Regions from separate parts of the Homo sapiens genome. Here regions 1, 2 and 4 are each linked to region 3. The links are contacts of gene promoters, found by promoter capture Hi-C in blood cells and fetal thymus (Javierre and others, 2016). All regions are on one chromosome and are shown on one strand. The core of a region is centred on a gene start or on the middle of the fragment in contact, and the rest is flanking DNA. Distances in the headings are between cores, read along the strand shown. Region 1 overlaps LOC124904938 (a long non-coding RNA gene). Region 2 has its middle 9.5 kb from the start of RAB22A. Region 3 holds the start of FAM210B (family with sequence similarity 210 member B). Region 4 has its middle 190 kb from the start of DOK5.

The links. Contacts are between HindIII fragments. The CHiCAGO score rates a contact against its expected background, and 5 or more counts as called.
Region 1: a fragment that was not itself captured here is called in contact with the fragment with the promoter of FAM210B in region 3 in 1 of 17 cell types (non-activated CD4 T cells); the score reaches 5.3 in non-activated CD4 T cells.
Region 2: a contact is called between a fragment that was not itself captured here and the fragment with the promoter of FAM210B in region 3, in 1 of 17 cell types (total B cells). The highest score is 5.4, in total B cells.
Region 4: a contact is called between a fragment that was not itself captured here and the fragment with the promoter of FAM210B in region 3, in 1 of 17 cell types (endothelial precursors). The highest score is 6.3, in endothelial precursors.

What each region holds. Positions count from the first base shown.
Region 1 is chr20:57,379,593-57,382,292 of GRCh38, reverse strand. It overlaps LOC124904938 (a long non-coding RNA gene), which reads left to right. Exons shown (of 2, transcript XR_007067671.1): 1 at 1-2,700. Among named protein-coding and RNA genes, the nearest start is that of RBM38, 10 kb to the left of the region's middle. RefSeq lists an enhancer at 226-520. The HindIII fragment of the contact is 2,256 bases long and covers 210-2,465 here.
Region 2 is chr20:58,298,806-58,301,595 of GRCh38, reverse strand. It overlaps the pseudogene PPP4R1L. Among named protein-coding and RNA genes, the nearest start is that of RAB22A, 9.5 kb to the left of the region's middle. The HindIII fragment of the contact is 3,290 bases long and covers 1-2,790 here.
Region 3 is chr20:56,357,553-56,360,252 of GRCh38, reverse strand. FAM210B (family with sequence similarity 210 member B) reads right to left here and starts at 1,279. Exons shown (of 3, transcript NM_080821.3): 1 at 1,062-1,279. The coding sequence starts at 1,247. RefSeq lists a silencer at 1,003-1,602. The HindIII fragment of the contact is 7,749 bases long and covers 1-2,700 here.
Region 4 is chr20:54,659,305-54,662,004 of GRCh38, reverse strand. No RefSeq gene overlaps it. Among named protein-coding and RNA genes, the nearest start is that of DOK5, 190 kb to the right of the region's middle. RefSeq lists an enhancer at 1-79. The HindIII fragment of the contact is 4,644 bases long and covers 1-2,700 here.

The DNA of each region.
Region 1 (2,700 bases), core at 88-2,587, 1.0 Mb before region 3:
ACACCGCGGGCGCCAAGGCTTCAGTGTTCCACGAGGAAACCATCGCGGACATTAAGTTTGAAACAGAAAAATCAGGGTCCCACCTCTGACAAATTATCTCCTTTAGCATTTTCCAAGGAGGCCTTCAATCTAAGTGTGTTATTTTTAAGACGATTCTTCTGACAGCATAAGCAATGTTTTGATTCTACTTCCCAAATATCCTAAAAGCTTAGCAACACAACAAAAAATGGAAGGGGGTGGCCAACACTTCATTTCTTTTAATGAACTCAAGTCTGTGAAACTGAACACAGAAACACATGCTCCAATGTTGGCATTGGGGCCATTCGCGCCATCTGCTGGCCAGACCTAAGCACAACACCCGGCTCCTGGGGAAAGAATCTTAGAGACAAGCAAGATCTCCAGTCACTTGGTCTCTGGACCTTTTTGTCCCGCCTGTATACCGACAGCACAGCCCCATTGAGCAGGAGACTTCTCATGGATGTCATCCTCACTGGCACTCGTAGTAGCAGCTACATTCAAACTCCACATCACGGGCCAGCCACAGGGGCACTTTTACGCTTTAACTCTTTGACTACTCACACAACCATTATGATAGCTACTTTTAATGTCTCCCATTTTACAGATGAGGTCACTGAGGCTCAGAGGGTTAAATCACAGGCTTAAACAAAGGGTAAATCACATGTTAGCAAAGTTGGTGACAGAGTTGGAATTGAAGGTGGGCAGTCCAATTTCAAGTACATGTTTTTTTGTTTTTTGAGACGGGGTCTCACTCTGTCGTGATCTAGGCTCACTGCAATCTCCACCTCCTGGGCTCAAGCACTTGAGCAATTCTCACGCCTCAGCCTCCCCAGTAGCCGGGATTACAGGCAGGTGCCACCGTGCCCAGCAAATTTTTGTATTTTTAGTAGAGACGGGTTTTGCCTTGTTGGCCAGGCTGGTGTGGAACTCTCGGCCTCAAGTGGCCCGCCTGCCTCGGCCTCCCAAAGTGCTGGGATTACAGGCATGAGCCACCGCACCCAGCCCCCTGTTCTTAATTGCAATGTTATAAGGTTATTTCAAATATAATTAATATAATCATCCCTCCCATTTTGGGGAGACCTCAAGTGCAGTTATGGCTTAGTACTTGAGGTCACCGAAGCTAAGAACTCATCCTAAACCATACAAAAAGTGACAGGCACAGAGAAGAATCCCACCCCAGGATATGAAAATATCTCATACATACATAGATTCTGTGATTTTGTGTGGCTCCACTAAAAGAAACGCTCACTGCAACAACTACGTTCATTTCACAACCTACGAATGGGTCATGAGTGAATTCGGAAAAGGCTGGCTTAGGCACTCCCGAGTGTTCAAGAACATGTGTTTAGTTCATGTTTTAGAGTCTCTCCTCCAAAAGAGACGAAAATTTTGGTTGAATGAGAAAAACAAACATTTCCTACATGACTCAATAAAATTTCTTTGAGACAGGGTCTTGCTTTGTTGCCCAGGCTGGTCTGGAACTCCTGGCCTCAAGTGATCCTCCCGCCTTGGCCTCCCAAAGTGCTGAGACTCCAGGCGTGAGCCACCACGCCTGGCCCTTGCTGTTTACCTTCTCTTGGTGGTGATTTTCTGGTGAAAGTCAGCAAGCTCACTGCCAGCAGGCCAGGCACTTGCCGCATCCTTTGTTCTTCCTCTGCCAGAGGATCTCTGGTGTGAAGCTAACCCGAAAACGGGGTGAGGCAGGCGGGTTCAGCTGGCCCCTTTGACTGAGAGGGTTTTCACAGGCAGGCTCACATGCACACGTGCACACACGTGAGCACAGGCTCACAGACAGGTGTCTCACACAAACCCACCACAGCTCCATCCTGCTTCCAACCAAACATGACAGGAACCGAGTGCACCTTCCTGTGCCCACCCTAAATCCCTGCCACCTTGTTGCAGCAGCATCTTTACACAAAGTTCTTCCCATGAGGCCCTGTTCCCACAGTGAGGAACCAAGGAAGCGATGTTACAACAAAGACTGGGAGGAAAGCCAGGCAAAACCAAGCAGAAAATCAAGGGAAAGGTGAGTGTTCATGGTGGCATCCTGGTGGCAGGCAGATGGCAGGTGTATGTTCACTGCCAAAACCCTTTCCACTTTTGTGGATGTTTTAAAATTTTCATATGTTGGAAAAAATTAAGTGAAAGAACACAATTTGTCTTCTCCATGAGGTTTATATACTTTACTTTCAACGAAAGCAGCTCTTAACAGGGTGTGCAGTCAATATTTAATGGCAGGACGGCTTGACATTTAGTGAAACAAAGAGCCAAGATTACACTAGTATCTCTTTGAAGTAGAAGATGCCATCAAACTTATGAATACTTAATGAGCACCTACTGCATGCAACTTACAGGTGCCTGCAAAGATGCTGAAGTTTAAGATGAAGAGTTCCTCTAAGACTTCATATGCATTTTAGGAAACATGAACATAAATATTTGAAGAAGCTTAACGATCTCAGTGAATACTTCCTAGATCCTCATTAGCAAACATGTAGTGTGCTTTTATGCTTTAGGTCCTGGGCAGCAGAGAAATGAGCCTGGGCCTCATCTAGGGTTCACATCCTGGTGGCAGCAGAGCTCCCTCCCAGGTTCTGACAGCCCAGTCCAATCTTGGATTTATGCAAATGTTTTAAATTTGCCAATTACAAAAACTATCCCCTTGGGGAGGTGGCAAGGTCCCAT
Region 2 (2,790 bases), core at 28-2,527, 1.9 Mb before region 3:
ATCCATGGAGTCATGGGAACCACTGGAGAATCTGAACCAGGGAGTGACTAGAGCTGCTCTGTGCTTTAAAGAAAGGAAAGACTGGTGGAGGAAAAGCTGGGGTGGGGTCCCCAGTGTGTTCCCGTGGTTCAGGCGAGGGGAGTGGGGTCTCAATCAAGGAGATGAGCCCGGGAGTGGGGAATAGGGTTGACAGATAGTTCCAGTGGTGAGGGAAGGGTCAACTCAGAGACAGGGTCTCGTGGAGAACTTTTCTGACACCTCCATTCCCTTCTACCCAGACTGGGCTAGACACTCCTTCTTTGTGTTTCCTGAGCCCTGTATTTTCCTGTGGCAGCATTTGCTAATTTACTAATAGCATTGACCATTAGAATGGGTCTTATCCTTCTTTGGGTCCCTGTGGTCTAACATAGTGAATGGCACTGGACAGCACATGAGAAGCAATGACACAGATCCTGGTGGCATTGTTGAGGACACCAGAAAGCCCCCTTGTAGGGTTCTGGAGCACAGTTAGGACTGGAGAGGAGATGTGAAAGTCATTAGTGGTGAGTGGTAGCTGGAGCAGGATGAGAGGGAGCAGGATGAGAGGGAATGTTGGAGAAGAAGGCGAAGGGGTACACCCTGGGCAGCAGAGGCTTCTAGAAATTAGCCATGGAGTTAAGAAACCAGGAGACCCTTGGAGCCAGGGTTTTGATTGGATAATCATTTATTTATGTCACTTGCCCCGGAAGGGTCAGGTAAGATGAGGATTGAAGACAGGCCATGGAGTTTGGCAGTTAGGGCGTCTTCACTCACCTCAGTGAGTAGTTCAGCACAGCCAAGAAGTGGAAGCCAGATTGGAGTTAATTGAGAAGGTTTTGGAAGTTGAGGCAGTGTGGTCTGGAATCCAGTAGCTCAGTGGTCAAAGTGTCCCATGCCTGGTAGCCAAGGCGAAGAATACAGCAGGCTGTGGCTAGGCACTGGGCACTTTGAGGAATGGTCACTGCGTTTGGGACTCACAGCCCAGCAGGAGAAAGCACAGCCTTTCAAGAAGCAGCTGGAGGGCTTCAAGAGGCTTTTCGTCAGGGATGGAAGATTCCAGCACAGATTTGCATGATTTATATGTACTCTGAAAACCTTAAAAAAAGAATTTGAATAACCCACCAATTCTCCTGGTTATATGCCCAACAAAACATAGACATATATTCTCAAAAAACATGTTCATAGTCGCATGATTCTCTTTTTTTGAGTTGGAGTCTTGCTTTGTCTCCAGGCTGGAGTGCAGTGGCGTGATCTTGGCTCACTGCAACCTCTGCCTCCTGGGTTTAAGCGATTCTCCTGCCTCAGCCTCCTGAGTAGCTGGGACTACAGGCGCGCCACCAGGTCCAGCTAATTTTTGTACTTTTAGTACAGTCGGGGTTTCCATGTTGGCCAGGATGGTCTCGATCTCTTGACCTCATGATCTGCCTGCCTCGGCCTCCCAAAGTGCTGGGATTTCAGGCGTGAGCCACCGTGCCGGGCCAGTTGCATGATTCTTAAGAGTTGGAAACTGCAATCTACTCAAATATTTATCATGACTACAAAGGATTATAAATTCTGGTATGTTCACACAATGGAAAACCATGCAGCTGTAAGAATGAATGATCTATAGCTCTAATCAGTAATATGGATAATTTCACAAACATCTGAAAAGCCAGACACAAAAGGGTACACACTACATGGTTCTATTTGTACAAACTATAAAACGATGCAAAGCGAATCTAGGCTGTCAGAAGGCAGGAGAGTTGTTACCCATTGCGGGAGGTGGTAAGTGGAATGGAGCAAGAGGTGGTTTTGGAGATGCTGGTAAAGTTACCTTGCTTGGTCTGAGAGCATTGCTTGATTGTTTTAGCTATTTTGAACAGTACGAAAATAGAGGACCCTATACCCCAATACTCATCCCAAAGATTTTGACTGTCTTCTACAACCATTTTTTTCTTTTGCATCTACCTCAAGTCTGACTAGAGAACTCATTGCATTTTTAAGTAATATTGTTCCATTCATTCATTCATTAACGCCGTGTAGACTTTACCACCCTCATCTTCTTCAACTCCCTCCCTCAAGTGGGCGAGTTGGCAGGAGAATGGAGATTGGTAACATTAAAATGGAGCATATGAACTGCTTTGAGCTGCAGAGTTCTTTCCTATCAGGTAACCTGTTTCCCATTGACTGTCAACTTAAAAGTCAGAGTCGGCGGGGCATGGTGGCTCACGCCTGTAATTCCAGCACTTTGGGAGGCCAAGGCAGGTGGTTCACCTGAGGTCAGGAGTTTGTGACCAGCCTGGCCAACATGGTTAAACCCTGTCTCTACTAAAATTACAAAAAAAAAAAAAAAAAAAAAAAAATTAGCCGGGCATGCTGGCACATGCCTGTAATCCCAGCTACTCAGGAGGCTGAGGCAGGAGAGTCGCTTGAACCTGGGAGGTGGAGGTTGCAGTGAGCCAAGATCACGCCATTGCACTCCAGCCTGGGCAACAAGAGTGAAACTCCATCTCAAAATAAAAGTAAATAAAAGAGTCATAAATAATGATGGGTTTTGGAAGCCATGATTAAAGCCACAAATCAAAGAGGAATTTCCATGTCTGCATGGCATAGAAAGGATGGCTGCTCATGAATTAGGCTGGTCTTTCCAGCCAGCCCATTGCATAGTGCTAGTAATAACTATCAGTAGCCCTCAAAGATTTGCAATATAAAACATTATGCATTGGATGGATCTGCTCATATGAGAGCTAATAAATCAGTGTGGGTCTTGTTAGAGAATGACGTTTATATAGA
Region 3 (2,700 bases), core at 30-2,529:
GAGGCGGCACGGTGTGTGCAGAAGGTGCCACTCTGGAGAGGATCCCCAAGACCTGTGTGCCACCTGTCGGACTGGAGAAGGCAAGGAAGGAAGTTGATCTGGGCAGGAGGCATGATGAAAGCCTGGGTCCAATCCCCATCCGCTCCTTACTGAAAAGCTAGGAAACGGTCAGGAGATGTTCGCTGGGCCGGCGGCACTCCGCTGAGGCCTGCACCAGCTCATGGAGTTGTCTCCCAAACTCTTGCTGGGAAGGTGCTATTTTTGGCCCTCTAAAGGTCAGAAAACAAGCTCAAAAGCCTTCAGGACTCGGTCTGAGGTCACCGGGCGATGAATGGAGGGGCCCTGTCTGCACCCAGGCAAACAAAGAGGCTCCAGACTGCCAGGCCGGATGCGCTCCGGGCTGGACGCCGGCTCCGCGTGTCTGGGCTTGCCATTCCTGGACCGCCAGACTTCATTTACTACTATTTTTATTTAAAAAGACTCACTTGGAAGAAAGTGATAGATTTCTTGAAAGGAAAGCTGGTATGACTGCTCTGAAGGAAAACCAGTTTTCACTTAGCACCAATGGAAAGTGACGGAAATGAAACATAACAAACAGCACTGTGGGTTTCTTGCCCGCGGCTTCCCTGAGGACGCCTGCTCTTCCACTCAGAAGAAAAGGGAGGAGCAGCGAGCGTCGGGAGGTGTTCAAAACACAGCGAGACCCAGCCAGAAGGCCTGGACAACAACTCCGCAGGCAACGTGTGGAAGTTCAGACCAAGTCAGTCGGCTGCGCCCCAGCCTGGCTGAGGCTCTGCAGACCCGGGGCTCGGCCGAAGACTGCGCGACCTTGGGCAGAGCGCCACACCTTCCCGAGCCTCAGTTTCTCTGGCTGTCAACTAGGAGGATCGCTTCCTTGGCTTGCAGGGATTTGGGGTTTCGGGGACCCTGGAAGAGCTCGGTCCCGGGCAGCTACAAGTGCAAAGGCGTCCTTGGCGGAGGCGGCCGGACCCCGGCGCGGCCCTGCGGACGTCTGGGGACCTGGACACCGCCCGGGATCAGGGTCGGGGTGGGGTGCTTACCTGGTGGCCGCGGCAGTCCCCGCGCGCCGTGCGGAGCAGCCGGGCGTCTAGCCTGGGCGGGAGCAGGGCCAGGGCCAGGGGCGGCGGGGCGCAGGGGGCGGTGGCGCCCAGGAGCCAGGTGGCGCGAGGCCGGACCCGGGCGCCCACCCTGCCTGCCGGACCCAGCAACGCCAGCAACCCGGCCATGGTGCGCAGCTAGGCGCAGCACCCGCGCCGCTGACCCGGGAGGCGGGCGGAGGCCGGGGAGGGTGGGCGGAGCTGACCCGGCGAGGGCCCTCCCCGGCCCCGCCCGCCGGCTTCGCCGCCGCGCGCGCGCGCTGGGCGGGACTGAGGAGGCCTGTGCACATCCCCTTGGCTCACCCGCTAGCTCCGCTCCTCGGGAGCCGGAGTCCAGGGCTGGTGGGCGGGGCTGAAGGAGCGCGCCCCGCCTCCTCTCCGCCCACCAGCCCCGCCCCTTTGGGGGTGGGTGCAGGTCTTTTCAGGGTCTTGGGCTTTCTAACTGTGGTGTGTAGTTGGCGGGTTTCCTTATTCTGCGGGCACAAAGGTGGGCGTAGGGCCGTGGCTTATGAGCTTTTCTCCCTGCAGAAATGGGTGAAATCTGAAAAAAAATTATAGATATGTTTACGTGTTAGCTCCAAAGAAGAAAATAAATATGAGAATTGATATTAGTACATGTTTAATAAAAAGTCCTCTGACCCTCATAGATTGTTGGCGTGAATGTAAAGCGAAAGATGGTGTGGCAGTTTCTTGAAAAGTTAGACATACACTAACCATACAACCCAGCAACTCCACTCCTCGGTAGCTTCTCAAGAGAAACAAAGGCTCGACACTCAAAGACTAAAATGTGAAGACACCAATGTTTGTAGAGATCTTATAAATATTAGTCAACAATTAGGAATGCCCATAAACTGGGACGTACTGTGGCACAAGTCTTCAATGGGACGCAATGCAACAATTAAAGGGAACAGACTACTGATACATGCACAACATAAATGAATCTCAAAGCTCTTATGCCAATTGAAAAAATCTAGGCACAAAAGTCACACACTGGAGGATTCCAGCTACATGAAGTGCCCAGAATAGGCAAAATCACAGAGACCTAAAACAGATCCGTGGTGGCCTAGGGCTGGGAGTGGGAAATGAGATTGACTGCCAAGGAGTGGGAGGAACGTCTTGGGGTGAGGGAAGGATCCTAAACCCAGATTGTAGGGATGGTGACAGCTGTGTAACTAAAACTCGTGGGACTGTACACTTAACATGGATGAATTTTATGCTGTGTAAATTATACTTCAATAAAGATGTTCTGGCTGGGTGGAATGGCTCATGCCTATAATCCAAGCACGTTGGGAGGCTGAGGTGGGAGGATTACTTGAGCTCAGGAGTTCAAGACCAGCCTGAGCAACATAGCGAAACCCTGTCACTACAAAAATAAAAATAAATTAGCCTGGTGTGGTGGCATGCACCTGTAGTCCCAACTACTCGGGAGGCTGACGCAGAATTGCTTGAGCTCAGGAGGTCCAGGTTTCAGGGAGCCACGATGGTGCTACTGCACTCCAGCCTGGGTGACAGAGCGAGACCCTGTCTCTCTAGAAAAAGAAAAAGAAATATATTTTACAAAAGATGTAATATTCTATTAGTC
Region 4 (2,700 bases), core at 43-2,542, 1.7 Mb after region 3:
GGACTGCGAGTTTTAAAAGGCGAGCATCAGTCCTGGGTGGGAGCCACATGAAGAAGCACAAAAGAGACAGAAAAAGTCAACGAACAATCCCCAGTCCCGCTCAGTTGCCTTCTTCTCAAGGGGCACCTTCAGGACAGGGCGGCTACGGAATCAGGAGACCCAGTGTAAAATGAAAACGTGAACTTCCTGTTCCAAAAGCAGGAAAAAAAGTGGGTCAAAGGAACTAAAATACAAACATTTTTCCTTTCTTCCTCTCAACTTGTCATTGTAGGTTTTTTATTGCTATTTGATGTCATAAGTAAAAACAAAAAACTGAAATTTTAAATTATGGGCATGAATTTCACCATTTACCTTTATATTGTATAATGTCCTTTCTAAATGTTAATATAAGAACATGTAATTCATGTGCTGAATCACGAAAATTACACAGCTCATTTTTCCTAGCTCATATACTTGCTTATGTGTTCTCTTCTTGCCAAAACAGCAGAAATGCTGCATAGAACTACCCCACTTCTTTGCATCTCATTACTTGATACATGCATATTCTACCGACACTCCACTGTCAGAGTCATTTGAACCAGAGCAACTCCATCTTGAATACGAGCTGGGTAGAATAAAGCTGAGACCTACTGGGCTGCATTCCCAGATAGTTATGGCATTCTAAGTCACAGGATGAGATTGGAGGTCTGCAAAATACAGGTCATAAAGACCTTGCTGATAAAACAGGTTGCAATAAAGAAGCGGGCTAAGACTCATCAAAACCAAGGTGGCGATGAGAGTGACCTGTGGTCGTCCTCACTGCTACACTCCCACCAGCACCATGACAGTTTACAAAATCCATGGTAATGTCAGGAAGTTCCCCTGCATGGTCTAAAAAAGGGGAGAATCCTCAGTTACAGAAATCACCCACTCCTTTCCTGGAAAACTCATGAATAATCCACCCCTTGTTTAGCATATAATCAATAACCATAAAAATGGGCAACCAGCAGCCCTTAGGGCTCCTCTGCCTATGGAGGAGCCATTCTTTTATTTCTTTACTTTCATAATAAACTTGCTTTCACTTTATAGACTCACCTCAAATTCCTTCTTGTGTGAGATCCGAGAACCCTCTGTTTGGGTCTGGATTGGGACCCTTTTCCAGTAACACTACCACTGGCTTACTGATGAACAAGGAAGGAAATCCGGGTTGCTCCAGATTTGCTTTTCCTTCTGTGTTGTACGAGGAAGCAATGTACGTAAGAAAGGTTGAAATAGGCTTCCTCAGATGTTTATATTTCTTAGAATGCCATTGCCTTCTTTCTGCATTTGAAGCAAGCTCTGATTCAAAGGAAAAGCCGCTTCGGGGCCGTGGCCCCTCTTACTCAGCGACAGAGGTGACATACTTCCCTTTTGAACCCCAGGTATCTGAGACAGGTCTCAATTTAGGAAGTTTATTTGGCCAAAGTTTAGCACACACGCCCATGACACAGCCTCAGGAGGTCCTGATGACAGGTGCCCAGGGTGGTCAGGGCATAGCTTGGTTTTATATATTTTAGGGAGACATGAGACATCAATCAATACATGAAAGATGTACACTGGGGCCGGGTGTGGTGGCTTACACCTGTAATCCCGGCACTTTGGGAGGCCAAGGCAGGTGGATCACGAGGTCAGGAGTTCAAGACCAGCCTGGCCAACGTGGTGAAACCCCGTCTCTACTAAAAATACAAAAAATTAGCCGGGCGTAGTGGCGGATGTCTGTAATCCCAGCTACTCGGGAGGCTGAGGCAGAGAATTGCTTGAACCCGGGGAGCGGAGGTTGCAGTGCGCTACTGCACTCCAGCCTGAGTGACAGAGTAAGACTCTGTCTCAAAAATAAAAATAAAAAATAAAAAAAAAAAGTACACTGATTCAGTCTGGAAAGGTGGGACTTGAAACGGAGAGGGGCCTTCCAGGTCATAGGTAGGTAAGAGACAAATGGTTGCATTCTTTTGAGTTTCTGATTAGCCATTCCAAAGGAGGCCATCAGATATGCGTTTATCTCAGTGAGCAGAGGGATGACTTTGAATTCTGTCTATCTTTTGTCCACAAGGAAATTCCTAGGGAGGGAAGTATGCAGCTGTTTTATCTTAGTAGCTATCATTTTAGGTATAGAGTGGAAGTTAGGTTTGCCCTAAGCAGTTCCCAGCCTGACTATTTTTCCCTTTGGCTTCATGATTTTGGTGTCCCAAGATTTATTTTCCTTTCATAGTTTGTATTTGCGTTGGGACTCACTGCCACGCACCTCAGGTCCCCTGGAATTCTGTGTTCATGGGGCATCGTGAATGCTACATGCAAATAAAGCTGCAAGGCGCTCACTCAGTCTGCAGATATCTCTTCTGCTCACAGGCAGGCTCCATTATTCCATCAGACTTTACTTATAAAACACAAGTTCAAAGAAGGAAACACTGAGAATTTCAAGAAGGTTACAGCAGAGCATTAAATCAAGTGTGGGACGCTTCTGAGCATGGGGACCTGTGCAGCTGCCTGGGTTGCACATCCATGAAACCAGCCCTGCTTGTGTGTCCTATACAGGGCTAGGCACTCAAGCCACAGAACCTGCATCTCAGGGCTGTCCCCAGGCAGAAGGCAATGCAGAGCGGGAGCTTTCCTGCTTTCCCTGTTCATGGTGCCCTTAATGTCACAGTGATACTTCTCCTAGTACTCTTAGGCCAAAAGAAATAT